Linked DNA regions of Homo sapiens: region 2 is linked to region 1. The links are contacts of gene promoters, found by promoter capture Hi-C in human tissues and cell types (Jung and others, 2019). All regions are on one chromosome and are shown on one strand. Each heading gives the region's core, a stretch centred on a gene start or on the middle of the fragment in contact. The rest is flanking DNA. Distances are from core to core; before and after follow the strand shown.

Region 1 (4,585 bases), core at 1,278-3,777:
GAATGTATCTTTTGGCCGGGCACAGTGGCTCACACCTGTAATCCCAGCGCTTTTGGAGGCTGAGGCGGGTGGACCACTGAAGTCAGGAGTTTGAGACCAGCCTGGCCAACATGGTAAAACCCTGTCTTTACTAAAAATACAAAAATTAGCCAGGCATGGTAGCGTGTGCCTGTAATCCCAGCTACTCGGGAGGCCGAGGCACGAGAATCATCTCAACCCAGGAGGCGGAAGTTGCAGTGAGCTGAAATCGCGGCACTGACCCTAGCCTGGGAGACAGGGTGAGACTCTGTCTCAATTAAAAAAAAAAAAAAAATGCATCTTTTTCCATTGATTAGAGGGATGACTAAAAAAAGAAGAATGCATCTTTTAAAAGATAAAGTTTGGATTTCCTTTACTCACTTCCTCCTTCCCTGTATTGTTGTCTTCAAGATTTATTTACTGCTCTATGCCAGGGTTAGCAGGTTAATGGCTCATAGATTCCTCAGTTTATTAACCCATTTATCTTGTTTACTGGTGGGTAAGGCAAAGATAAAAATGTGTTTGGCTGTAGTTGTCCAAGTGCAATGGGCAGCAGTATCCCATAAGGCCAGGAGGTGGTAGTGTTGTCCATAAAAGTAGACCTTCATTTTTTTTCCTGGATTGTTCAAAATATTTTAAACCAGTCTGTATTTGCAAAATCCACACAGGATAAACTTTTGAAATAGCAAAATTTGGGAATGTTTGTCTGTTTTTAATCAAGAGGACAGAGATATATTTATATGTATATAGTGTCACACATAAGGAATTACATGTTTGCCTCTCTGGGCTTTGGCACACATAGATACTGCATTGCTACAAATGAGATTATGAACCTATAATTAAGTGATGCTACTTTAAGGGGTTGTTTTGTCTCTCTCGTACTGAAATTATAATAAGTTGCCTGGGGAGCTTTCTTCTCCTCTTTCAATTTATTATTTATTTTTTTGAGACAGACTCTCGCTCTGTCCCCCAGGCTGGAGTGCAGTGGTGTGATCTTGGCTCATTGCAACTTCCACCTCCCAGGTTCAAGCGATTCTCCTGCCTCAGCCTCCCGGGTAGCTGGGATTACAAGCGTGCGTCACCACACTCGGCTAATTTTCTTTGTATTTTTAGTAGAGACAGGGTTTCCCCATGTTGGCCAGGCTGGTCTCGAACTCCTGACCTCAGTGATCTGCCCGCCTCAGCCTCCCAAAGTGCTGGGATTACAGGCCTAAGCCACTGCGCACGGCCCTCTTTCAATTTCTTAATTTTCCTTTTCGTCCTGTTGCTTTTCTCCCTCCTCCCCATTCCCAGCTGTATGTAAGATGGTATCTCATTTTAATAGACTGTTGTTATTTAAATAGACTGTTGTAGTTTCTACCGCAAGATGCAATTGTTGAGAGCGTGATTTCTAACATTTTACATAAAACTGCCGTAAAAGGTTTACTGGAACTTAATATACATTGCCTATTTGGTTGATGCTTTCAACACTCTGTAGGGCTTTCACACAGGACTAGCCTCAGTGGAATTTTATCGATTAAATTAATCTACCAATGGGTGATTAAGAATTATCTGTTTTATTGCATATTTAATAGGTTGGGGGGGCGGAATTCTTTCTTTCTACGGCTAATTGCCCTCAGTTCAATTTTACCACTGTGATATTCATTCCACATGCTCTGATGAGTGTGGTACTTGAGACATTACCTTAGTGAGGGAAGGGACCAATGTTACAAATGAATCCGGAAGGACGCTAAAACTAACACCTGCAAATTATGTACATGTTTATATTCCAGGCGCTGGTTTAGCTTTTGGGAGAAGTCAGTGAGGAAAACCCGTAAAGATCCCCGTCTTTACGGTGCTTACCCTGAAGATGGGAGTGGAGAGGGAGGTATTCAACCAGCAAGAAATCGGAAAACGCGCAGAGCGGCCGCGGGGTCACGGGAAACTGCCGGAGGCTTTCAGGGCCCAGGGCCCGGCGGGGAGGCTTCAGCGGGCCTGCATTTTCTTAGGCATCCGCTCCAGGCGGGTTCAAGTTTTCAACCAGACCTTCGGCGATCCAGCGCCTAGGGAACGTCAATGCGGGTGACTTCTCCCGCTGTGCAGGGCGGTGACCCGGGTTGGCGCGCCCAGTTCCCCGCCAGAGTCGGCCGGGGACTTCCCTGATAAATGCGACACCCTCTTGCCCCTGCGCCCCCCGACCGCGCGCCCGGCCCCGCGTGTCCCCCACGCCCCACAACCCTGCACGCCCTACCCGGCCGCGCATCCCCTCCGGACCGTGCGTCGCCGCCCTCACCATTGCGCCCCCAGCTGTGTGTCCCTTGCGACCGGGCCCCCCGACCGGGCGTCACCGCCTGCGACTCTGAGAGCCCTGCGGGCTAGAGACCGTGCGGCCATCTCGCCTCGAGGCGAGGCCCTCCTGCCTGGTCCTCACCTCCAGAGCGTGCATCCCCCGGCCCGTGCGGCCCCCTAAGGGGCGGGCGCTGGGCGGCGCTGGACGGCGCGAGGCGGGGCGGGGCGGGGCGGGGCGCCGGACGCCATCGCGTCGCTACCGGCCGGCGGCTGTCTGACCGGGACTGCAGCCGTGTCCTCGCCGCCCTCCTCTTGCCCACGCCTCCCGGGCACTCGCCTGGTCCCGGCGGCGGCGCGCGCGGCCGCGTTGGGCGGCGGCGGTTCCGGGGATGGTGAGGCGGCGGCGCGCGACGACGATGCTCCGGAGCTGAGGAGACGCCGGCACACGGCGCGACTGCCGAGCGCAGCGCCCACCCGCGGGATGGCTCAGGCGGCTGGCCCGGCGGGCGGCGGGGAGCCGCGGACTGAGGCAGTGGGCGGCGAGGGGCCGCGGGAGCCCGGGGCAGCCGGCGGCGCGGCCGGGGGCTCCCGGGACGCGCTGAGCCTGGAGGAGATCCTGCGGCTGTACAACCAGCCCATCAACGAGGAGCAGGCGTGGGCCGTGTGCTACCAGTGCTGCGGTTCCCTGCGCGCCGCCGCCCGCCGCCGCCAGCCCCGCCACCGTGTGCGCTCGGCCGCGCAGATCCGCGTCTGGAGGGACGGCGCCGTCACCCTGGCGCCCGCGGCCGACGACGCGGGAGAGCCGCCCCCAGTTGCGGGTGAGGCCGCCGGGCCCCTTTCCCTCGTAGTTCTTGGAACACCCGCGGCTGGGCCGCCTTACCCTCAGCGTCCCCGGCCCTTCCGCCCCCGCCGTCCCCCCCCATTTTGCCACGGGAGACCCCCGGGAGGATCCGGCGGGGACCCGCAGGGGAGGACGGCGTCAGGCCGTGGCTGGCCGGGGCCCCTCGGAGGTCAGAGCCTCGTGGCGGGCGACGGCGCAAATCCGCTGTGCGGAGGACGTTTGGGTGGGCCTGGGCCTGCGGGCCGCGGGGCGCTCGTCATTGTGCTGCCCGCGGGACAGCTGCCCGCGGCGCGTTTGGGAGCGGTGGGCTGGGCCCTGCTCCGGGCCAGCGGCCTGTGCGCCTCACGCCGTGGCTGCTGACACACGGCCGGGTTCACGGGGTGGGGAGGGCATCGCAGGCTTCACGCGGGGGCTCCGCACGGATCCTCAGTGCCGCTGTCGGAAACACCGCACTCCTCACGGGAAACTAGCAGTATTCCACATTAGACAGCCTTTCCTCGGTTCGGAAATGTAAAGATGATTCTGAACCGTGAGAATTCTGCTCTTTGGGGAGAAATGGAAAAATAGACTAAATAGTGATTTTTGGCTCCTGGACGTTAGAAAATACTGATTGCATTCCTGTATGTGAAAATTTGTTGTGATGAAAAACAGGCTTGTAAAGTGAAAAGTTGACAGGATGTCGGGATACAAAGAGAAAATGGGCCTTAGTTACGTCATTGTCTAATGTAAAATTTTCAGGATTATGACCTAAACAGTAATTTATAGCCAGGGTTTACTCAGATGCTCATTGAAGAGGAGGAGGAGGTTGAGAAAAGGTTTCTCCCATCAGTTTTTATCTAATTCATTCTTTTGAGAGGCAAGTCTATTAAAAACATAGAAAAACAATCTACCCTCACTTTTAGAAAGTTGATGGAAATGTCAAAATGCTTAAGGTGAAAGATGTAATTTCGAATTAGTAAAATGACATTTAATGAAAACCCTTGTCTAACTTGATTAAAACAATATTCAAGGTTATAGTTATTCTTTCAGTTCCACCAGAACGTTTTTATCTTTTATTTTTTAGTGTCAGGTAAACACATTTTTATTTACATGCTTTTATCTTTTATTTTTTAGCGTCAGGTAAACGATTTTTTATTTAAAGCCATCTTTTTAATTGTTCTTTTGAAACTATTTCAAATAGTATTTTTGTTTCTTTGATGGGCTTATTGCTTTTAAACTTGGACTTAATCTTAGTGGGAAATACTTGCAATTATAATTTATAGTGTATTAAATGGTACAAAAGATACATTTATAAAATACAGCAATGTCTGCCAGGTGCGGTGGCTCAAGCCTGTAATCCCAGCACTTTGGGATGCCGAGGCAGGTGGATCACCTGAGGTCAGGAGTTCGAGACCAGCCTGGCCAACATGGTGAAACCCCGTCTCTATTAAAAATACAAAAATTAGCCGGGCGTGGTGT
Region 2 (4,036 bases), core at 59-2,558, 240 kb before region 1:
CATCCTTATATTTGCATCTTCCTTGGCCCAACATCTTAAGCTTTATAATTGCCCATTTTCCTCTCCTTCCTGTTGGTCCACATTAGACAGGTCTTACAATTCTTAGGATATATAAGATTTCTGCCTGGAGTTTGGACTGTTTACCTAAGCTGTGTTGGGATCAGACCCTGCTTCTTAGTATGGAGGTAACAAGTGGTGGCAGGGGTTGCTTTTGGGGAGTTAGTGGCTAAAACTGAGTTTCCTTGCCCTTTGAGACACTTTCTCATGTGAGGGCTTCTGTGAATCTAGTAAGAATGGGGGCGCACATCTGCTGGCCTGGGGGAGCCAAAAAAACCTGGGGTTGCAAGGTTCTCAGGCTGGTCCAAGTCCACCCAGGTATTTCTCAAGTCAATGATTTGAGGACGAGACCATTTATGGCTATGCATTCATGCTCCTTTGCATCTCTGTTTTCCTAATAACACAGTGCTGTGCCTGATTTTCATCCACACATTCTACGAATAAAATGAGCGTCTCCATGAATGCAGTTATGGAGCCGCTTTGCTTCCACAACCTGCCTCAAGCTGACAGTTGCAGGTGGAAACCTGTTTGACTTTTTTTTCAAGACGTCCAGAGCATTTAACAAAGACCAGGAACCTCCAAAATCGTTATAGTTCCCCTCGCCCCAATACCACTTAGGTGTCAGAGCTGCCACATGCCCAGTGCTTTACCTTCCACCTGCACCTCATCCCAAGCCACCAGGGTGAGATCCTTAGCAATCGTGATGTTACCAGATGCCACTCACTCCAGCCTCGTGTTTCTTAGCTCTGTGTTTTCCAGCTCCAAAATCCCATCCTGAGAATCTGCTTCCTAGGCCCATGTCTGTGACTAATTACCTTAGCCTGAGTTCCCTGAAAGCAGACCCTGAGACCAAGGCTTGTTGCAAGGACTTTATTTGGGAAAGCGCTTCTAGAGAGCAGCAGTGCAGGGAAGGAGGATGAACAGGTGAGGAGGAAAAGCAAACATAAGAAAGCCTTGTCACGTCCATCACCAGACACAAATGACGCTTGTTCACACTGAGACTGACTTACTTTTTCTTTCTTCCTTTCTTTCTTTCTTTCTTTCTTTTCTTTCTTTCTTTCTCTCTTTCTTTCTCTCTCTCTCTCTCTCTCTCTCTGTCTCTCTCTCTCTCTCTCTGTCTGTCTGTCTCTCTCTCTCTTTTTCTTTTTAAGACAGAGACTCACTCTGTCACCCAGGCTGGAGTGCAATGGCACGATCTTGGCTCACTGCAACCTTCGCCTCCTGGGTTCAAGAGATTCTTCTGCCTCAGCCTCCTAAGTAGCTGGGATTACAGGTGCCTGACACCACACCCAGCTAATTTTTGTATTTTTAGTAGAGATGGGGTTTCACCATGTTGGTCAAGCTGGCCTCAAAGTCCTGATCTTAGGTGATCCACCCGCCTTGACCTCCCAAAGTGCTGGGATTACAGGCATGAGTCACCACGCCCGGCCCCCACTGGGACTTTCTAAGGAGCCATGAGAAATGCATCCGAGAATCGGCCACCTGGAGGCTCGGTGCAGTGGCTCACATTTATAATCCCAGCACTTTGGGAGGCTGAGGCAGGAAGATCCCTTGAGTTCAGGAGTTCAAGACCAGCCTGGGCAATATAGTGAGACCTTATCTCTACAAAAAAACTTTTTTTTAATTAGCTGGACATGTTGGCATGCACCTAGTCCCAGCAACTCAGGAGGCTGAGGTGGGAGGATCACTTGAGCCCGGGAGGTCAAGGCTGCAGTGAGCCATGATCACACCATTGCCCTCCAGCCTGGGCAACAGAGCAAGACCTTGTTTCAAAACAAAACAAAACAAAAGCAAAACAAAAAAAAATCAAATAATTGCCTTCCTGGGGTGTGAAAGGGGAAATCAACATCGGTTAAGAGTGGTGCCGCGGCGGCGGCGGCGGCGGCGGCGGCGGCGGCCTCGACCTGGCCCGGCGGCGGCCTCGATGGCTCAGGCGTCTTGGCTCCCGACGGGCGCTGCTCCCTGGCGCGCTCTGTTGAGGCGCCGGCCGGCTGGCGCAGTCCTGTGGGCAGCGTGGCGCTTGCAAGCGCAGGAAGAGTTCTGGGGGGACCGCGGTGGGCGGGATACCTTTGGCGCCGGCTCTTCCTCTTTCTCCCGGTTTGTTCCCGACGGTGCTCGCTCGTGGGCCCGCCCTGGCCCGGGCTTTCTGGCCCCGTAGTACCCGCGCGGCCTAGTTCTCGGGGGCTTGGGCACCCGGGTGCTGTATCGGCGGGTTTCTTCCCATGTCCTGGACATTTACTTTATATGCTGCGGCGGAGGTCGTACCTCCTTGGCCTGGAGGAACCCAGTGGGGACTGACGCAGCTCCGGGTGAGCTTTGGCGGCTGTGTCGAGTGACAACGTAGGCATCTCAGCACGGACATTTGCAGTGGCCCGACGGCGCAAATGACAGGGGAAGTCCCCTTGTTTTGAGTATGAGGTGTTTGTCGCTGTCCCTTTATAAGGGTCCAACTCCACTCATACTCACCTCCCTCGCCCCCCCCCCCACCCCGCCCAGAACACTTTGGTAGCTGCCTTTGCTTAAAAAAAAAAAAATTCTAAAGTTCTTACAAATCGTTAGTATGGCTTACAATTTTTAACCTTTTCCACAAATGTTTTTAGGGTATTTTTCCTCTTTACAGGTAAATGATGTGATCTATTTTGGATTCAATAAGACTTTAGTAATTGGATCTAAAGAGTGACGGAAGAAGCTATTAAAGGTGGATGTGCACAGAAAAAAAAAAAAAAAAGAGTGGTGCCACTGGTGCTAACTCCTCTGCACATCTGAGTTAAGAATGTTTCAGTGAATTGTGTGTTCGTTTAGGTGTTGCAAGTCACAGCATCAGAGAAGCCCCAGAGCGGAAAGTGAAAGGTGCTCAGAGATGATCATTCATATGGCTATGAACTAATTAAGATTCAGGGATTTGAATGTGTCTCCTCATAACAAGAATATACAATATACTTCATGTAAATTTTTCTAGTCAAAGAAATGTTAATTAAAACTGTCTGGACTCTGTTTCACCTGGGAGAAAGTATGTTTTTGCAACAATATCAATTCTTTTGTGTTTTTTATTAACATAATAGTATTTCATTTCAGAAGCAGCCTGATATGCACATAAGCATAAAATAGTAAGAAGTGGGAAGTAGTTGTGGATAAAAAGGAACCAGGCCAAGCACGGTGGCTCATGCCTTTAATTCCAGCACTCCAGGAGGCCAAGTTGGGAGGGTTCATAGGGATGTGGGCAAACATATAGTTCTAAATCGCTGCCTATAGCATTACATTGATTCTATTCTTTCATACAGCAATTTAACAGTGGATTTCAAAAGCTATAAAAATATCTGGCTGGGCACAGTGGCTCACACCTGTAATCCCAGCACTGTGGGAGGTCAAGGCAGGTGGATGACTTGAGTCCAGGAGTTCAAGAACAGCCTGGGCAACACGGCAAGATCCCCTCTCTACAAAAAATACAAAAATTAACTGGGCATGGTGGCACACGCCTGTGGTTCCAGCTACTCAGGGGGCTGAGGTGGGAGGATTGCTTGAGCCTAAGAGGTAGAGGTTTCAGTGAGCTGAGATTGTACCACTGCACTCCGCAGAGGTGACAGAGCAAGACCCTGTCTCAAAAAAAAAAAAAAAAAAAATAGCAGCAGGTGCTTTAAGCACCTTTCCCACATACCTTCAGCATGTACTTCTACATCCAGAGGCTATTTTCTGCTTTAATTTTTTTTTTCTGGCCATGGAAACAAGCTCAGCTTACATACAGGGCAAAGTAGGAGTGGCAGAGAGCTAAGTAGCTCTAGAAACAGTCTTCAAACCATGACAGGTGGGGAGTTAGTGGTTAAAACTGAGTTTCCTTGCCCTTTGGTCTGGAAACTTTGACAGTATGTTCTTTACTGCCCCCCACCCCCCAGAGTTTCCCAGCAGGCTGGAAGTCCTCTTGTTGCCCACAGTGCTAACTGGTTGTTAATAAACACGCTTTCTTCTTTTCCCTGTTTCCCTT

What was found. Contacts are between HindIII fragments. The study calls those that stand out against the background at their distance.
Region 2: a contact is called between a fragment that was not itself captured here and the fragment with the promoter of SPIRE1 in region 1, in 1 of the 25 tissues and cell types used here (psoas muscle).

Annotation. Positions count from the first base shown.
Region 1 is chr18:12,656,049-12,660,633 of GRCh38, reverse strand. It overlaps SPIRE1 (spire type actin nucleation factor 1), which reads left to right and starts at 2,527. Exons shown (of 17, transcript NM_001128626.2): 1 at 2,527-3,104. The coding sequence starts at 2,768. It also overlaps a transcript of PSMG2 not described here. RefSeq lists silencers at 2,068-2,217, 2,268-2,337, 2,340-2,508, 2,378-2,797, 2,988-3,107. The HindIII fragment of the contact is 13,339 bases long and covers 1-4,585 here.
Region 2 is chr18:12,895,025-12,899,060 of GRCh38, reverse strand. No RefSeq gene overlaps it. Among named protein-coding and RNA genes, the nearest start is that of PTPN2, 13 kb to the right of the region's middle. The HindIII fragment of the contact is 3,045 bases long and covers 1-2,830 here.